2 separate regions of the Homo sapiens genome follow, and region 1 is linked to region 2. Evidence: promoter capture Hi-C in human tissues and cell types (Jung and others, 2019). All regions are on one chromosome and are shown on one strand. The core of a region is centred on a gene start or on the middle of the fragment in contact, and the rest is flanking DNA. Distances in the headings are between cores, read along the strand shown.

Region 1 (2,920 bases), core at 163-2,662, 1.3 Mb after region 2:
ATTGGAAAAGGCCTCTGAAAAAAATGGCATTTTAACATTCACTCAAAGGACATTGGAGAGGGAGCTACAGGGCTGTCTAGAGTATCCAGGCAGAGGGAAGAGCTAGTGCAGGACCCTGAGGCTGGAGCCTGCTCGGTGCATTAGAGGAACAGTAAGAAGACCGGTGCGTTAGAGGAACAGGAAGTGGATTGTGTGAAAGGGTATGTGGCAGGAGATGAGGGGATGGTGGAGCCTCGTTGGTTTTTATAAAAACGTTGCCTTTTTCTAACTCAGGTGAGAGCCACTGGCTGGCTTGGCTTTTAATGCCCGCCCCCGCCCCCCCAACCCACGCTCCTTCTGGCTACTGTGTGGACAATGGGCTTTTGGGGGCAAAGGCAGAAACAGGACACTGGTTGTATCCCAGGTGTGTGGAGTGCCAGCTCAGGCAGTGGGCAGAAGTGGTGCCAGGTGGACAGTGATCCCCAAAGAGCATGTGGGTTCTTCGCTGTGTTCTGATCTTGACCCTGCCATACAACGGGCTATGAGAGCTTGAACAAATTGTCCCACAGTTCCCAGCTTCCACATGCTGTCTATAAAATGGGAGTAACGATGCCTGCTGTGAAGCAAATGCCTATCGAGACTACCCAGTTGTCTCCAAAGTGTTGCTCTTTTTTAAAACCACAGTTCCATTGAGCCTCACTCATCGCAGTTGTTATGTCTGTAATCTCAGTCTAGAAGAGTCCTTACGCTGTTTTTTTCTTAATAACTCTGATTTCTTCAAAGAGAGCAGGCTAGTTATAGAATACTCCACATCTGTCTTACTGTTTTCTCATGGTATTGTTTAACTTGTTCCCTGCCTTGATTTTCTGAACCGGATGTTTAATCTTTTAAGTGTCTGAATAGATTCCGTTTAAACATTTTAGTGTGAGTACTTCATCCTCAGCACACATGGGAAACATCACTAGTTGTGATGCTAAATTTGATCTTTTCTGTAAAGGTACATTTTTCCCTTTGCATTTAGCAGTGATCTGTGGAGTGCTTAGGTAGCCATAGATGGTCTCTTGCTCATCAGCCTTTCACCTAGTGGTGTTTACACCATCTGATCATTCTCCCCTGAAGAAGTCACTGGCATTCACAAAGTGTTGATTTTTAAAATTCCTTCATTCTTTCTAAATTTATTAGCTGTTATCCTTCTATAAGATAAGGTAAAGTAATTCTTTACCTTTAAATACCAAATTTTATTTTTATTTTTTGAGACAGTGTCTCTGTCACTCAGGCTGGAGTGCAGTGGCTTGATCATGGCTCACTGTAGCCTCGACCTCCCAGACTCCCATCCCGGCCTCCCATCCGGCCTTCTGAATAGTTGGGCATACAGGTGCATGCCACCTGTCCTAATTTTTGTATTTTTTGTAGAGACGGGTTTCGCCAGGTTTCCCAGGCTAGTCTCAAACTCCTGGCCTCAAGTGATCCACCCTCCTTAGCCTCCCAAAGTGCTGGTAGTACAGGCATGAGCCACCGTGCCCAGCCTTTAATTACCAATTTTTAAAATGAAAAATGAATGTTAACTGATGGGGTATTGCCATTCCCAGTGGGGGCAAGTGACTTTTTCCCCCTCTATTTGCTTTGACTGTACTGTGGGCTGAAATTTTTTGTCAGGGCCTTAAGATCAATGATACCCATTATTCTTTTTGATGCTAATATCATCCTAAATTTGGCCAGTAGGAGCCCTTTAAGCTGGCTCCAGTACCTTTTTGACAGGCTCCCACCATTCCTTCATCCATTTCTCGGTTTCACTACTCTGGTCCAATTATCAGCCATCTTTCAAAGAGCTCTGGTTCCTTTCAGTGGGGTCCATGACCTTTTTTTTTCTTGGTAACAGCTTTATTGAATATAATTTACATACCATAAATTCACCTATTTACTCATAGATGTTTTAACTAGAACATTTTTAGGCTTAAACTGATTTTTATGAATTACTGAGGGGTTTATTGTATCCATAAACTGGAAATCATTTGTCTGCCTTGGAATTTTCTCTAAAAATATTGTCACCTGCTGTTTCCCATGGAAGAAGCCAAGGTTATGAATAACTTAATCACATAGCATTCAGTTCTCCCTTTGGTGCTCATGGTGACATTTGTTTATTTTTACTTCTATTTTTTCTTCTGTTTTTTTGTTTTCTTTTCCTGCTAAAAAGCTTAACCAAGTCTCTGCATTCCCTCCCCTGGACCCCTTTGATTTTGACCAGGTGTATTCTAGCAGTGCAGAAAGTCGGGGAGGTAGAAATAACCAGTTCTTAGATGCTACTGTCTCTTTCTGTTACATTTGCTCTTCCTCTCCCAGGAGCTCAAGCCACCTTGGCCTGCATTCATTCCTCGAATGCTCCAAGCCTTTTCCCACATGGAGGTCTCTGCCCCTTTGCTTAGGTGCCACCACACTGCCCCCACTCCCCACTGCATGACAGGCTCTTTTCTTTATAGCACAGCTTAAGTAACACTTTGGATGCATACATGCATGCTTCTAATTCTGCAACAATGCACCCATCTATTTTCTTAGCCCCCATCATAGTCAGGATCCGTGTAGTTAAACATCTGCTCTTTCCCCAACCGACTGAAGGCTCCAGGAGGCCAGACCCACACTAGTGTTGTTCTCCAAGGTCTCCCCATCAGTCTTGGCATAGAGTAGCTATTCAGTGACTGTTTGAATGAGTGGCCAGTTAGGACCTGGCATTCCCTCGGTCACTCAGTGAATATATAAGGAGCTGGGCAAAGCCTCAATGTTGCCCTCAAGAAGCTTACCCTGTAGGGAGTGGTCAGTTACAATGAAAGTACCTCAGGCAACCTACACCTATAGGCTAGAACTTCTTGGAGGAAGTGCCATTTGGTCTTGGGTGTGTATGGTGCAGTCAGGCAGGAGGAAAGCGTCTTCCAGGTATATACACAGG
Region 2 (3,158 bases), core at 461-2,960:
CCTGGTCCCACCGAGCACGCTGGGATGGCATACCTAGATCCCTCCCCATCAGGCATTGCTCAGAGACATGGAGACATCAGTGATTGCACTCAGGGGATTGACAGATTTGATTCGCAAGTCATCACTGCAAAGCCTGGCCCAGCCATGGGAACAACTGCATTCAGGTCTGATAGCACAAGTGGGCAATAAATAATAGCTTGTAACACACCCTCGAGTATTTCGTAGAATTTGCCTTCTGGAACCAAACCTTTTTTTCTCAGCCTGTGTTTACCCAACTGCCCTTTCCAATCGAACAGAAAGCAGAGAACCAGACACTTGATTGTGTTTAGGCAAAACCTCAGGCACAAGTAGGTGTTAAGCCGACCCCCTTTAAGAAACCCCCCTTTGTCGGCCGGGCACCGTCGCTCGCGCCTGCAACCTCAGCACCTTGGGAGGTCGAGGCGGGCGGATCACGAGGTCAGGAGATGGAGACTAGCCTGGCCAACATGGTGAAACCCCGTCTCTACCAAAAATACAAAATTAGCCGGGTGTGGTGGCTGGCACAGGCCTGTAATCCCAGTTACTCGGGAGGCTGAGGCAGGAGAATCGCCTGAACCAGGGAGGCAGAGGTTGCAGTGAGCCCAGATCTTGCCACTGCACTCCAGCCTGGGGGACAGACTCCATCTCAAAAAAAATAAAAATAAAAAATAGTTTGTCACTACAGTGCCCACAAGGAAACGTTAACACACATTCCACATCGTCTGCTTAAACAGTTTGGTCTAGCACAGTTCCCAGACCTTGAGCTCTGTGAAGACAATTATTTCAAATTACACATTGTATGGCTCAAATACTGCCTCACGCCTATCAGACTCAGAGCCAGCCAAGGACGGCAAATACTATCACAAGCTGCCCGAGAGGATACCGAAAGGAACCACATCTCTCTGTGACACTTGGCGGTGGCCGACTTACCTTCAGACACGGCGTTGGCATTTTCCAAGGCAACCTGGGATGAGGCAAAGGGACAAAAGGCCACCAGACGAACGATGCTGTGGAATTTGCCCAGGTTGAGCACAGACTCCTCCACCTGGGGGGAGAAAGAGGCTAAGTGGTTTCCTTCCCTCCCTCCTGCCTCTGCGGCGCAGTCAAGCAGCGGTTCTCAGCCTTGGAAGCTCTTAAAATATGCTGATACCTGGGCCCCACATCCCAGCTTCTGCTTTAATCGTTCGGGGGCGGCGTCCGGGAGGCTTATTTCTAATTGCTAGAGCGATTCTACCCATGGGTCAAGGTAAAGACCCCCGGATCTAGAGCTTTCCAGGCCCGTCCCCCCGCCCCGAACCGCTCGGCCGGCCACGTGGGAGCGCGCTGTGCATGCTGGGACCCGCGCGATGAGGGTCTGCGGGGCCGCCAAAGGAGCCCACGGATCTCACCCACCTGCGGCTGCAGCAGACTGATCTCCTCCACTTCCTTCAGCGCCAGCAGCGCGTAGCCGACCGCGTGCTCAAACAGCACGTGCAACAGCACCTGGAACGGGAGCCGGGGCGCGAGCGTCAACGCAACCTCAGCGTCTGCCGGAACCCGTTCCCAGGGCAGGCGCAGGCGCAGGCGCAGGCCCAGGCCCAGGCCCAGGCCCTGTCTGCGGCCCGAACGCAGGCCGAAACCCCCACCGTCGCGTCGCCCGCGCCCCGCAACCACTCCTCACCATGGCGCCAGCTCCCGGGTTCGGCTCGCAATGCGGCTAGCGCGCTCCGGCGCGCGGAACCAGGCTCCAGAGGCCACGCCCCCGCCCCCCCGACCAATCGGAGGCCGGGGACGACACCATCTCCGGCCTTTGGAGGGGCCGCCCAGGGTGGTATCGCCCGGAGCGCGGGCTGGGTGGTGCCGAGCGCGGGCGAGCGGGCCTTTTCCGGCCTCTGCAGCTGCGCGGGCGGGCGTGGTTGCCGGGGACGCGCGGCCCCCGGTCGGGCACTGCAGGCGGCGAAACGACTTGGGAAGGCCCTTTCGGGGTAATAGTCCGGTTCCTGATGTTCTTGTCATATGAGTTACGGGCAGCAGAGCTGGGTGAAGTCGGGGCGGGAGGTCCGCGTGGGGCGCGGCGTCCATCCCAGACAGAGACCGCTGCCTAGCCGGCTTCCCGCTTCGTCCGTGGCCTCGGGCCCCAGACCCTGCGCCCCACGTCCCCGGGACCCAGGCGTTCCCGTCCCCTACTCGGGGACGAGCCTCCCCGGCGCCGGGTGGGCGGTGCATCCTTTCCTCCCACCCGTAACGGGAGCGGTGCCTGGCGCGCTCTGGCGCAGACCCTGCTGGGAATGTAGCTCGCGCAGTTTTCTTCGTACTATTAATTTATTTCTTTTTTTTGTTTTTGGTTTTTTTTTTTTAAATGACTGTAGCAGGCAGTAACGTGCGAAAGAAAGACGCTCCAGCGTCTTCCTAGGCCAGTTTCTTGTTGCTGTGCTGCACGGGACCCAGCTCCTTTTGCTGGGCCACGTGTTGCTCCTCCGCTTGGGCGGCCCTGAATTCTGGGCGCTGGTGATCGCTGAGTGAATCGCAGCTGCTTCCCTGTCCTTGAGGGCGTCTTTTGGGCACTCAGGCGACTCTTTAGAAATGAGTTTTGCTTTAATAATTAATATTAACGTTATAAATCCAAAACCTAGTTATACTTAAGTAGCGTATCCCCTGGTATGTTTTAAAGAGTCATTCGAAGGGGATTTTTAAAAATAATGTATAGCTATAAACTGCATTTATACATTTAATTGTTATTTTGTTAAGCGATTGAGTTACTTGACAAAATCCAAGTACATAGTTCACTCACAAATCTAATATGTCAAACCTAAATGTGGTTGGTAAATCTTACTCTCATAATTTCAATATGGTTTACAGATGTGGTTGAATTCTGTTACACATGTCTACTTACGAGTCAGAATCGTTATTCCATTTAATATTTTAAAATGGAATTGCCAAGTTAATCCATACATTAGCATGTTAAATTATTTTAACCGTCGTGAATACATCAAAATAGACGATTCCAAAATGTAATGGAAAATACTAATGCTAATACTTCAATTTACTTCATTATTTCTGCCCTTAATCCTGAATCTTCCTGGAGTTACAGGTGCTTATCCACTAAACCAGGGGTTTTCAAGCAAGAAGTCAGAATGCATTAATGGACAGCATTTAAAAAA

Evidence for each region. Contacts are between HindIII fragments. The study calls those that stand out against the background at their distance.
Region 1: a contact is called between a fragment that was not itself captured here and the fragment with the promoter of NOP56 in region 2, in 1 of the 25 tissues and cell types used here (dorsolateral prefrontal cortex).

What each region holds. Positions count from the first base shown.
Region 1 is chr20:1,386,150-1,389,069 of GRCh38, reverse strand. The region is part of intron 2 of FKBP1A (FKBP prolyl isomerase 1A); the gene reads left to right. The region is part of intron 2 of FKBP1A-SDCBP2 (FKBP1A-SDCBP2 readthrough (NMD candidate)); the gene reads left to right. Among named protein-coding and RNA genes, the nearest start is that of MIR6869, 5.4 kb to the left of the region's middle. The HindIII fragment of the contact is 7,512 bases long and covers 1-2,920 here.
Region 2 is chr20:2,651,184-2,654,341 of GRCh38, reverse strand. NOP56 (NOP56 ribonucleoprotein) reads right to left here and starts at 1,710. Exons shown (of 12, transcript NM_006392.4): 1 at 1,679-1,710; 2 at 1,411-1,500; 3 at 949-1,063. The coding sequence starts at 1,681. It overlaps MIR1292 (microRNA 1292), which reads right to left and starts at 1,565; the gene lies at 1,500-1,565. It overlaps LOC105372505 (a long non-coding RNA gene), which reads left to right and starts at 1,878. Exons shown (of 5, transcript XR_007067502.1): 1 at 1,878-1,982. It overlaps SNORD110 (small nucleolar RNA, C/D box 110), which reads right to left and starts at 130; the gene lies at 56-130. RefSeq lists an enhancer at 997-1,086 and a silencer at 1,587-2,226. The HindIII fragment of the contact is 12,812 bases long and covers 1-3,158 here.